Regions from separate parts of the Homo sapiens genome. Here region 1 is linked to region 2. Evidence: promoter capture Hi-C in 16 types of primary human blood cells and fetal thymus (Javierre and others, 2016). All regions are on one chromosome and are shown on one strand. Each heading gives the region's core, a stretch centred on a gene start or on the middle of the fragment in contact. The rest is flanking DNA. Distances are from core to core; before and after follow the strand shown.

Region 1 (6,265 bases), core at 2,592-5,091, 280 kb after region 2:
TATTAAAATATTGCTATTAGTCCTCCTGCTTTATATCACTTGAACAGTCAATCAGGCAGGTACATTGGATGGTTTTATATTTGTTAGTAATATAAAAAGATATTTATTGCTGATATTGCCCTCAAGTCTACTTGGTTTCAGCAAATGGAGTTTTGTCATACAAGGAAAAGTCTTTTTCTGGGAGTATGGTTGGGGTGATAATACTGTTTTCTCAAAATGGAAGAATGCATTATTTGCGATTTGAGCTTTTCTTGTTTGCTTTCTAAATCTGACCATTTAACCTCCCTGAATCCAAACTGAAGTAAAATTCAGTGAAAATTTCTTATGCTGTTCCTATGGATATTACAAAATTAGTTTTTGTTGTCTTGTGCTCATAGAGCATCCTCTTTCAACATCTTCATTCCCCCTAATTTATTTGTAGTATTTTGCTATTGTTTTAAACTATGGTAGCTCATGGAATATACCAAAAGAATACTATAGGTAATATTGTTACTTTTAGAAAATATCTTTTCTTTCTTCGATACCTGAGTGGTATAGTCCTTTTAAACATTTCGAGACAATTAAATATTTAATTATTTAAGTTCTCCAATGGATATTTTTTGGTACTCCTAAGTATTCATAAGAAGTCATCTACATTGTCTGGTTGTATATTGGGAGCAAAATTTAAGACAGAAATATAGACCCCAAGGTAGACAGTTTTCAATTGAGTGTGCCTGAATGAATCTGAATGTGATAGGATTCAGTTTAATAAGATTATTTTCAGTGAGCTCATTAGAGAAAAGGGATACCCAGTTGAAGCTAGGAGGTATATGGTGAGTGAGACAACTTTTCACACCTATATTGTCATGTATTTGGCTGCCGCCAAGGGATGTACAGAGTCAAGGTTTTAGCAGAAGCATCACTTCCTCAGCCAAACTTTCCTGATCTTGAAGTCTTGGTCACATCATCAGGTTCATTTTCTCTTAGTATGCTGTACTTATCCTGTACCACAGTTGTAATTATTAATTACATGCTGTTTAATACAGTCTCTTCCCAGAATATAAGCTCCAAGGAGGCAGGACACTACTCTATCTTCCATTGCTTTATCTACAAGGTCTTACCACACATTCCTGATACATACATAGTAGGAACACATCAATACTTAATAAAATGAGAATTTGGATTTGTGTTTTTTTGAATTTGAGAAATGTCACAATTCTATCTAGTCTTTGGCTGGTCTGGAATTTTTATTTACAGATGTCTCATCAGTTACTTTTGTTGCTGCTAATGGTATTTCCCTGTTGCAGATAGTTTGTCAGTACTTCCTTTAGAATGTGTTTGGTGAAAAGTAGATAAATTCAGATTATCCAATTTTAGGAGTTGATTTTACATCTTGCTAAACACATTTACAACGTAGTATAATACATTCTAGCTACATAGCAATTAAAACTTAAAACCACTCCCAATTAAAAGGGAAAAGAAATTGTGGAAAGGGATTTATTATTTATTGCCTGAACATCTCATAAGATAGAGACCATTTCAAATGCCTTTGAAGGGGTAATTTCTTAAAACCACAACATTTATGAGGATTGTTGTAGACCCTTCTACATGGTTTTGGCAAAAAAAAAAACCTCACTCACCAAACCTATGAAGCTGTGTAACACTGGAGCCCTGAATATTCATTCTCTAGCCATTCGTATCCTTGAGGGTTATCAGCAAAATTAGGAAATATCAGGGAGTTTTCTTCCTGAACCAAATTTGGCTGAATGCATCTGGAACACGATTGTGAGTACTACAGTGCTATCATGTAGCTCATGTAGCTGTCAAACCTTATTTGCGTGTAAAAATATTAGTAATGAATTAGTACTAGATGATTTATGAGGATTTTTTCTATTTAGTCTGAATTATATTGAGTATGGTTGAGCAAATATGAAATTCAATTTATTGAAAAACTTTATTTTTTCCTTCTTTTAGCAATACAGTACTTACATGCTTTTGGTGTCAGGAAATCCTTTACTAATGGTCTAGAATTTAAATTTGGGATTGATTCTATATTTTTCATGGATTCAATAAAAAGTAATTGAAAACCAGACTTTGCGAAAGGAGTTAAAAGTAGCAAATTGTTTTTTAATAGATTACATTATAGAAAAATTATAGTTGCAGTTAACCAAAGAGTATATTGAAAGGGAAAAAAAAGGCATACAGTTACTATGAAAATTGTCTTCCTTTCAGATATTGAACCAGTTTGACTTCAGTATATATCATTCAAATCTAAATGTCATGATATTTAGGAAAACATGAAACAGAGAACTACCAGAAAATTGGAAGACACACTTGTCCTTTAGCTGGTCATAAAGTTAAGTTCCTAGAAGGATAATGATTTATTTACAGTATCAATACAGCAATCAGATGGATGTACAAAACCTACAACATTATTACATATAAGCCACTTGGTATATAGCATAGGAAAAAACTTTGTGGTAGCAATAAAGTATGTAGTAATAACCTTATTAAGTTATCTTTGGACCACATATAAAGAAAACTAAATATACTTGAGAGATAAATGAAGGAAGATTATGGCAGATCTATCTAAATTAATTAGTAACTTAATCCCTACTTGACAGATACACCGTTCACCTACAAAAACAAATGAGTAAGGACAGTTAAGAAAAACAGAAAAAATGTTTTTCTACCAAATAATAAAGTATAAACTCTGTGTAAAATCACACAATTCAGTCATTGTCCTAGCAATGGGAGCACAGATCAGTGGAACAAAATATAGTCCAGAGATAACTGGAGAGGGCAGTGACTTTTCGATAAATATTTTAAGGGCATTTTATTATTTTTATATTTGGGAAAGTGTCTAATATACTACTGTATAATGTTTGCTAGATTAAATCCCTTATTGTTTTTCAGTGACCTTGTTTTGTTTGTGCTGTGACTGACCGATAGTGTTATAGGATTCTAGACACATAGCTTCTAATTCTCATTGACTATTAAGTATGTCCTTGGCTAAGGGGCTTTATCTTTCTAGCCTTTATTTTCTTCTAGTTTGAAAAATTAAAGATGAGCATAGGATTCTTAAAAATTCTAGGTCTTGTGCCATTTATGCATCTACTACATTCGAGAAAAATAGAGGATTTAAAAATATTGTTAGAAGGCACAAAACGGGTTGTGTTTAACATAAAGATTTTCCACTTAACTGAATGTCCATACCTTTCATGAAACAAAATTAATGTCCTTTGAAACATTTTTTTTCTCAAAGGGATTTTTAGCTAATCAGAAGAGAGCTGAAAACTTAAAGGATGCATCTGTATTACCTGATTTATGCCTGAGTCACGCAAATCAGTTGATGATTATGTTGCAAAATCATAGAAAACTGTTAGATATTAAGCAGAAGTGTACCACTGCCAAACAAGAACTAGCAAATAACCTACATGTCAGACTGAAGTAAGTGATTCATTTATATCTGTTTTAAGATGTTTAGAATTGGTATTTATATTTATTTCTCCCAAATGATGGAGTGATTTTTCCCTACCATTTTATTGAAATACCTTATTGATGAACTTTGGAATTAGACTATTTTTGTAGAGCTTATATATCTTGATTTCTTTGGCTTAACTAAGTTAGTAAGCTTACTAAGTAAGTAACTAAGTTAGTACCAGTTTTGTGAATGTTGAAAATAATGGATTTTATTCTCTAGGTGGTGTTGCTTTGTAATGCTTCATGCTGATCAAGATGGAGAGAAGTTACAAGCTTTGCTCCGCCTCGTAATAGAGCTGTTAGAAAGAGTCAAAATTGTTGAAGCTCTTAGTACAGTTCCTCAGATGTACTGCTTAGCTGTTGTTGAGGTTGTAAGAAGAAAAATGTTCATAAAACACTACAGGGAGGTATGCAAGTTGAATTCTATTTTAACTGTATATGAACTTTAACGAATTGGTGTATGTTTATGTTTAACATAAGCTTTCCTCTTCTAGTGGGCTGGTGCTTTAGTCAAAGATGGAAAGAGATTATATGAAGCAGAAAAATCAAAAAGGGAATCCTTTGGGAAATTATTTAGTAAGTGTTCATTAATAATTTTAATTACTTTTGTAAAGGATAAAAGTTTTTATAAGCTTGGATTTTCTGTAGCATACTTCATGTATATGCTGTTAATTGCCATTGATATCTAGGAAATATTCCTTTTAAAGTGTATAGAATTGAATCCATTGTTAAATTTTAAACTTGAAGTACTGTCAACTTTTAATTTACCTTTTCAAAAACCAGAGATAATTTTTTGCCTTAAATAAAGCTCTAAAATAACCATATTGTTAATTTCTTTATACAGGGAAGTCTTTTTTAAGAAATCGTCTGTTTAGGGGACTGGACTCCTGGCCCCCTTCCTTTTGTGTATGTATTTATTTTCTAACCATGACTAAATTCCATATGTTTTAAAACCTTTTTTCCAGAAGTAGAGACATTTATCAGAAACTTGCAGAAATTGTTGTGGTTTAAAAAAAATCAAAATAAAAGTGTTTTTGGCTTTAAAAGCCAGTTAGCATAAAGCTTTAAGATTGATATTTGTATTCATAATTTTTTATAAAGAATCTTCATAACACAGGAAGATACCTTATACTGCACTGTTAGGATTGGTAGAAATAGATTCACTTGGTTTTTTTGTTTTCTTGTCTCTTCCTTTTTTTCTTTCCACCCTTCCCTCTTCTTTCTTCCACTGCTCTTCTCCCTCCCTCCTCCTTTACAGCCTCCACCTCCTCCTTGCCCTTCTATATTTCTTTTCACACCACCCCCCTTTATATTTTGACAAATCAGAATAATAAAGCCTCAGTTAGACTTCACTGGAATTAAACGTTAGTTTGATATGTTTCTAAACCATTGTTATCTGGGGTCATTAATTGTATTACATGAGAAGAAACGTTTCCATGATCAAAGCAATATGGGGGCTTTTACCCCCATCAGATGTACTCTTAGCTGTGTTGTTGTTGTTTTGGAGACAAGAGTCTTGCTCTGTTGTCCAGGCTGGAGTGCAGTGGCACAATCTCATCTCACTGCAACCTCAGCCTCCTGGGTTCAAGCTGTTCTTGTGCCTCAGCCTCCCAAGTAGCTGGGACTAGAGGTGCCTGCCACCACATCCAGCTAAGTTTTTGTATTTTAGTAGAGACGGGGTTTCACCGTGTTGGCCAGCTGGTCTCAAACTCCTGGCCCCAAGTGTTCTGCCCACCTTGGCCTCCCAAATTGTTCAGGTTACAGGCGTGAGCCACCACGCCCAGCCATGCTTAGCTGTTAAACATGTTTCTATACTGCAGGATTTCTTAGTGTTTTAAATGTATGCATTTTTTAATACATAAGAATTGGTGACATAGCGATTCCCATACTTATTTATCCGAGAACTCTTTTTTATGAAGAGCATCTTGGCATCTCCACATCTGCTTGAGTAATGATTTAAAACAAGTTTTTTTTTAATGCAACTCTTGGCAATTTTATAAATAATGAATTGGTAGGATTTACCGGTTAATATTTTTTACAGAAGCTAAAATTGACCAAAACTTTGTCTTCTGGAAAATGTAATGGAAAAGTCAAGGCAAAAGCAAATAAGAAAGTGTTACATGGAAAAAAAATACATGTGTGCATTTTAATATATTAGTGGCTTTAACATGGTAAATATTATATATATACGCACACACTTACATATGTGTTTACCATATGTATATGTACATACATACACATACAGGATAGGAATATTGTAATTCCCATAAAATGATGCTAAAAGCAGAGAAGGGGAGGAACAAGTGCATCCCTTGATCACTAGCAGTTCACGTCGCAGTTTACTAAAGGCTCAGGAAAATAATATGCCATATCTTTATTGAATGGTCTTTTTTTGTTTCTTAATCATTTAAAGCACTTTAGTTTGTTTGGTATAGTAAATTTAATTATAGTAAGAAATCATATAAATTTGCTGTCTGTTTTTGGTTGAAAAAAAATTTTTTAAGTAATTAATTTTTTTGGTACAGACTCAAAAGCCTCGAAAGTTTGACTGTGAACTTCCAGATATTTCATTAAAAGATTTACAGTTTCTGCAATCATTTTGTCCTTCGGAAGTTCAGCCATTCCTCAGGTAAATGTCATTAGTATTTTCAGTTAATTTATAACCTTAAAATGTTTTTATTATTCTGGAGTTGTGCCAGGTAGTACCAGTAATCTTAAGAGGTGCCAAGATAAGAAATATTTAAGATAGACTGGCTTTCCTGTGACTGCTTTGAGAAATTTCTGGGGAATAAAAAATGATGGA
Region 2 (6,945 bases), core at 4,315-6,814:
GTACATAAAGCGTGGAGGCTGCTATGCACATGGTGCCTTTGTGTGACAGCTCTGTTAGGAATTTTTATTCTCATATAACTTTCAACAATCCCATACACTTTGTAAGTCTCTGAATTAAGATTGAAGTTTTATAATATTAAATCTTACCCTCCCTTTATCTCGTATGAGCTAATGGTAGATACAGCTTGCTTAATCTACTAAATATTTAAAAGACATCATTGTTTTCTAGTCTAATATTTCCAAATTACACATTGCAACGAATTCCATCTCTGCTGAAACAAGATGACACAATTCCTAGAATAGAATGGGAACTGGGTGGCTCTGATTGGTCTTCACTGATCTTTGTGGGCCTGGCTAAATTGATCCACTTCCTTGTATCTCACTTTCTTTGTATGTAAAATGGGGGCCGAAGTGCCAGACCCAAAGCTGTGCTAATAAAAGACCATTATGGGCAGAATTCTCTGATCTCTTTCTTAATGTGCATAAGCATAGATGATTAATATCCAAGGAGAGTTTACTGTTTTTTTGTCTTGCTGTTGTTTTCCCAGCATGTTGCTGAGGAAAGAAGGGTTTATAATAAGTTCGTGAGTTTTTCAGGTGAGATTCTCCACCTTGCATATTTGTGCTATGTCTATGCATATTGCTGATAGCAATGTGTATACTAATAATTGAAGCAATTTCTCTTCCCTTCTCCCCCTCCACATAGCTGCTCAAATATTTAAGAAATGAGGCTTTTGATGGTATGATAGAAGTTTAGCATCCTTTCTCTGCCCAGCATAAGTTCTGGAATCTCTGTGTTTATCAGCAGCTTTGCATCATTTTCACAATCAACCAAATTAAGGGGTGGGGGTGTTCATTCTTAATTTTGTCCTGTCAAATACTTCTATTTATTCATTGAGTATTCATTGGATCACTTTTCCAATGAAGGCAGTATTTTTAAATAGTAACACTGCACAAATGCTAAGGTGACTTAATTGTGGATAACTTGTTCTCAGAAAATAGAATGTTCACTTATCACACAGAATGTTTCAGCTTTTATTTTAAACTGAGCTCCTCTACAATGGACTACAGAGTTTCTGCGTTTGTCAAGAGAAAACATAAGCATACACATTACATAACTGCACTAAATTAAGTAAAAGCAAATAGACATTTTTAACTATTCAAAGTGGTAAAACCAAACCATAGAGTTTACACAGAAACTGCAAGAATTCAACACAGTGTTAAAACCTTTGCAATACAATGATGTGAATAAATTCTACTTTTGCCTGGCTTATGTGTGTATTTATTCAACCGATTACCCAAGACATAAAAAGGAAGCCTGAGATATACAGTCTACATGCTCGTATGAAGGGCAACGACCTAGAAATAATGATACAACAGTTTATCCAGTGATCAGAAAGCCCAGGAGGAACTCAACTGCTGAGACCTGATTAATCCCACAGGCATACTCAGAAGCCAGTCCATGCCTTGCTGGGGATGAACAGCAATGTCAGCCCGTGTATTTTTCCAGCAGTCATCTCCATAGATTCCAAGAAGGCTCGAGGTCAATCTACTGTAGGGATGAAACAGTGGACAGATGGATCACTCAGCTGTCCCCCATCTGAGTCCAGTTACTGAGCTTATTAAGACAGATGAGATACTGAATCCAGACAATCACTCCAGCTGTGTTTGTAGCCAAATGTTCACCTTACTCTTTGTCCATCACCTTAGGTAATCTAGAAGTTACTCTAAGTTTAAAACTTTAATTTTGAAAAGTTACAGAGGATTCATGAGATAATTTTGAGAGTTTAAGGAAAATCAATAGAATGTTTCCTAGAAATTCGAAAGATATTAAAATGAATTCCAAGAAGCCTCCGAAGCCGGCCAGCAGAGAGAGGCCTGTTCAAATGCCATGAGGTCCACCACTCGAAACTCATTGTAGATGAAAACTTTCTTTTAAACAATTTACTATTATTTGCCACCCAAGACAGAAGGTTTTTTAATGTATATTTTCTAAACTGATGGCTATGAATTATTTCAATGTTCCTAAAAACTCTGAGAGCTAAGAAAGCAATTCTTATTCACCAAAATTAGAGAGGGGGTTTGCTTCCCCCCATTCCAAGGGGGAGTTTTTTCCTTCCAAATATTTATTAAAAGCTATTTTCAACCTAAATAATTGAGAAATTGATTGAAGATGCCAAACTAAGCAAACAAAATGTGCTGCAACACTCACATTTTTTTTTCTCACACATGACATAGGAAACAAACATTTGTAGAAATTTTCATCCTGTTTGGACTTCATCCTAAAGATTAATACCTTTTAAAACACCATAATCAATTACCAGACTTTGCTTAGGGTTCGGCCCTCATGTCTAAGGCTAAACTGCAGAGGATTGGGCAAACCCAATGCCAGTCCTCTCTCTTAATCCACTTTGTCTTCCATATGCAGAGACAAAAACACAGGTAGGATGCTGGCCAATCTCCCTGGTGACTCCAGGACCAGTATTTACCCGGTTTACCGGGACTACCTACCGGATGCCGTCTACAAGTAAGGAATAAAGCCCAGGTAATCCACAGCTCCCTGTGAAAAGTACAGCAGAGAAAACCTGAAGCCGTCGGTCATCCCTGCTTCCTGCTCTCCCTAAGGCGGAGCCAAGGAAGCAGAGGAGAAAGGGAACACAAGAGAATAGATCGCATTTCTTTTTATCTTATTTGATCTTCATGGCAACTCGTGAGATTAGGACATGTACATTATTTATAAAGTTTTCAGTCCTGAAAAACAGTACACACATGAACAGTTACAACAAACTGATCTAAGTAAGACAAGAGACGAGGCCAATTGGGGGAATGGGGGTGGGGCTTGGCATCCTCTATAAGCAACGATGACCAGTGTGCCACAGCGCTGTGAAGCGCGCTCAGCCGGAGTGCTCCACCACAAAGCCCCGCGATCCTCCGACGCTAAGCACTCGGCCGCTGGCTCCTCCAGGGGGCGCCGGAACCGCGCGCCCGGGCTACTCCGGGTTCCTTGCTCCGGGAGTCTGACATTTTCAGGGGAGATCACGGATAGGAAAGGGAAAAGGCAAAGAAAAGGAGTAGGGGCAGACAGAAAGAAGGATCACTATTCGTATCATATTCTAGGCAGTCACTGCCAAGCGCCAGCCTCTTTCCCCGCATTTCATGCCTCCGCAAACGCGCGCACACCACACACACACACACACAGGTGTATACACACTCCGATGGGGCATCCCGAGTTGTTGTGTTTTCCCCAGTTGAAGAGGCGCTGGCGGCCTCGGCAGCGGTCCCCGCCCGCGGCGCCAGGCCAAGCGGGTCTCACAGGGGTGGGCGCCAAACGCGCGCGCCTGACCGTCTTCCCAGAGCGCGCGGAGGACAAGGGGACCCGCCGGGGCTGTGCGCCAGCTACAGCAGGGGCCGCGCGGAGCCGACGCCTGGGGGCGCCGGCAGCGTCCTCGGGCCTCCCTTCGAAGGCGCGGAGAGTTCCGACTCCAGCCAGGTTCCAGACTGCCAGGGCTCGGGTGGGGCAGCAGGGAGCAGGGCAGGGAGGGGGCGGTTCCCAGCAATACCGCCCTCCTCCTCTACCCTCCTCTTCCTCCACCTCGGCTTTAGGGAGCCCTCAGTGTGGCGATCTCAGCCTCAGTTCTCCTCACCCGGCATGGCCGCGCATCACCTGGAGGGCTTGGCAAGGTCAACCTGCGGGCACAGTCGCAGCGCTTCCGATCTGCTAGGTCGGGTATGGGGCGCGAGTCGGTTTCCCCAGGAGGCCTAGGCGGCCTGTCTGGTCCCGCACTCTGGCGCCGGCTCCTCCCTCGCTGGCCAGGAGTGGCGGGCAGTTGCGGAGCCGGACGCTGGGGGAGTCAGGCTGCCGCGCGGCAAGTTATCAGCTGGCGGAGGTTCCTGCGGAAGCTGGCGTCCAGGAAGGCGTAGAGGAAGGGGTTGAGGCAGCTGTTGGCGTAGCTCAGGCTGGTGATGAAGTAGGAGATAGCGATGACCAGCGGCGTCTGCGGGAGGTCGGTGGTGAGCGCCACCACGGTGCTCAGGTGGTAGGGCGTCCAGCAGAGGAGGCACACCGCCAGGATTGCCACCACCAGGAAGGTCACCCGCTTCTTGGCGCGCTCCAGGGCCTTGGCGTGGCTGTCCAGCCGCATGGCATGCAGCCGGCACAGCAGGGTGGTATAGAGGACACAGATGGTGGACACGGGGATGGCGAAGCCCAGCACGAGCGTGTAGAGGCGGCTCGCGCGCCACCAGAAGGCCTCGGGCTGCGGAAAGACTAGCACGCACTGGCGCCGGCCCTGCTCGTCGTCTAGCCGGGCGAAGACTGCGAAGGGCAGCACGACGAGTGTGACGATCCCCCACACGGCCAGGCTCACCGCGCGCGCGGCGCTGTAGGTGCGGCCGGCCACCCGGCGCGACTCCGCAGTGGCCAACACCACCAGGTAGCGGTCGGCGCTCATGACGGTGAGGAAGTAGAGGCTGGAGAAGGTGTTGTACTGGTCGATAGCCACGATGAGCTTGCACATGAGCTCCCCGAAGGGCCACTGCCGCAGCAGGAAGTCGGCGATGTTGATGGGCAGCACCAGCGTGAAGAGCTCGTCGGCGATGGCCAGGTTGAGGATGAACAGGTTGGTGACGGTCTTCATGCGGGGCGCCCGCAGCAACACGTACAGCACGGCGGAGTTGCCCGCCAGACCCACGGCGCAGATCACCGCGTAGACAACTGGTACAGCCACCGCCAGCGGCGCCGGCAGCGGCGCCAGAGTCGACGCGTTGGAGCAGCTCAGCGCCGGGTCCGGGCCCGATGCGTTGGCGGGCCAGGGCTCCGAGAACGAGGCGTTGTCCATCTCAACGAGGGCAGAGGAGCCGGCGACCTGGCGTCCCCCAAGGACGCCCTACGGAGCTCAGCGGTCCTGAAGCCCGGTTCTGCACGGACCTGCTCGCGGACGCTCGTTTCAGCTCTCCAAGCCGTTCTCTGGTTTTTCCGGAGGAGGGGACCGTTCCCAGCCACCCCACGGCCCAATGTCGCCGCGGACTCACGGGGCTGGAAAGAGGAATTTAAAGCATAGGTTAGTTCGTCGACGTGTAACTTTAGAAATAGGCGCGGTCCCGAGGAGGGGTGGGGGTGGCGCCGCGGCGCCCCAAACCTCCTCCACGTGAGCGCTCTCTGCTACCTGTTGAAATCTCACTTCTACCAGTTGAATACATCAAACGAAATGCTAGAGAGAGAAGAATCCTCCATAGGAAAAATGCAAACCCTTCTCCCCTCTTTCAGGAAACTTCCGTAGACCCAGGTTACCCCACAGAATCCCGCAGTGGCAAGCTTCGGTCTCCCCAGGGTCTGTGCGCCCTCAGTAACAGCAAGCTCAACAGCAGTCTTTACCTTACCTGGCTGGCTGGGGAAGGGGTCTGCCTTTCCTGGAGCTGTCAGGAGAAAAGCCCGCCGGCTGCGGGGAGGCTGAGACGCCTGCCGGCTGGGTGTCCGCCTCCCCCTGTCTGCCTCCCCCGAGTTCGCCAGAGTCCGCAGCTCGCGTCCCCGCCGGTCCCTCCCGCGCGCCTGGAAGTGCAGGGATGGCGCAGCCGCGACTGCGTTCCACTGCCCTGACCGCCGCGCCCACCCCCACACCCCAAGTAAAATGGTCTTAGAACAGAGAACAGAAATTCCCCCAAATTTAAGGGATTCCTTTCTTCCATCCCAGTCGTGCAACCTCACTCCATCTGAAATAATAGAAAGCTCTCCTGTTAAGAATCGAATTTAAGGAAAACAAAGTTAGGGTGTAAGTGATCTATTTTTAAAGGAGAACAATGTAGTGGAGGCGCCTGTTCCATTTTTTATACACCGTAACACAAATAGGCTAATGTAATGTGAAATCTGAAAGGAGGAAAAAGTGAGTGCAATTTTATAATGCAAATCACCTGTTTTCTGCTACTCTGGTCTTCAAGGGGATAGAAGATTGTTAGTATGTTTTCTAAAACTACTTCTACTTCTACTTTTGTGTAAGTAAAGACTTGATTAGTAAAGACAAACGGCTTCCGCAAAGCCTTTTAGGGAACCATGACAATGCGTATTTCATAAAACGTTACAAGTTGTTCAACACACTCTCTACTTATCCACACACTTGCCCGATTCTCCTGCTAATGAGAGCTATCCTGCGATCGCAGCGGAGAGTAGCCAAGGAAGGACTAGCAGGGGCAGTCTTGAACTCCCCTGTCGCTATTTCCCTGGACTTTGGATTCTTTCTCTAGGAAGGGAAAATCATCTTAGGCTCCTCACCAGTTCCCCTAAGAATCGAATGAAATAAACTAAATATTGGTTATTTCCAATTTCTGCTTTTTTTTTTTCTCCACATTTCCTTTAGGAGAGAGAGCAAATTAAAACACGAGATTATATCCTCTAGTAAACTACCCTTCCACAAAAGCAGGCGAAGCCCAAATAAAGTGTATTTTTGGTCCTCTAGGATGCATCTTAGAGAAGGGGGCCTGAGATCCAGAGAGACCTAAAGTCGGCAGTAGAAGACTGTGGGGCCAGAAATACAGTAGCCCCCCCATACCTATGGGGGATAGGTTCCAAGAGCCCCAGTGGATGCCTGAAACCATGGATAGTACCCATTGCGGTCAATGGGAACATGTTTCTGTTCTTCCATCCAAAAATGATGCAACAGCAAAACTAGCATGCATTTCTTTTTTCTTCTTCACATTTTCGTGGATAGATTTGTTTTTAGTAGATCTTGGCAACCTCTGCATATGATTTTTTTTCTTTCCTTATTAAGTCCAGAATTTTTACCTTTTAACTTAAAGGAGGCATTTGCAGCTTCTCTTTGGCATATCTGAATTGCCAGCATCACTTCTCTTGCACTTTGGAGCCAGAGAGAAATAAGGGCAAAAAGTCAGTAAAATCAAGGCAACTTGAAGACACCACACTGGTCATTGCCACAGTCATCTAATAACCCAGAT

The links. Contacts are between HindIII fragments. The CHiCAGO score rates a contact against its expected background, and 5 or more counts as called.
Region 1: a contact is called between a fragment that was not itself captured here and the fragment with the promoter of NPBWR1 in region 2, in 1 of 17 cell types (total CD8 T cells). The highest score is 5.1, in total CD8 T cells.

The regions. Positions count from the first base shown.
Region 1 is chr8:52,658,699-52,664,963 of GRCh38, reverse strand. RB1CC1 (RB1 inducible coiled-coil 1) reads left to right here. Exons shown (of 24, transcript NM_014781.5): 9 at 3,245-3,429; 10 at 3,683-3,869; 11 at 3,957-4,038; 12 at 4,307-4,368; 13 at 5,988-6,091. Among named protein-coding and RNA genes, the nearest start is that of RB1CC1, 53 kb to the left of the region's middle. The HindIII fragment of the contact is 207 bases long and covers 3,738-3,944 here.
Region 2 is chr8:52,937,801-52,944,745 of GRCh38, reverse strand. It overlaps NPBWR1 (neuropeptides B and W receptor 1), which reads right to left and starts at 5,564. Exons shown (of 2, transcript NM_005285.5): 1 at 5,380-5,564; 2 at 1,012-5,035. The coding sequence starts at 4,838. The coding sequence ends at 3,852. RefSeq lists enhancers at 4,126-4,757, 4,758-5,389. The HindIII fragment of the contact is 12,259 bases long and covers 5,317-6,945 here.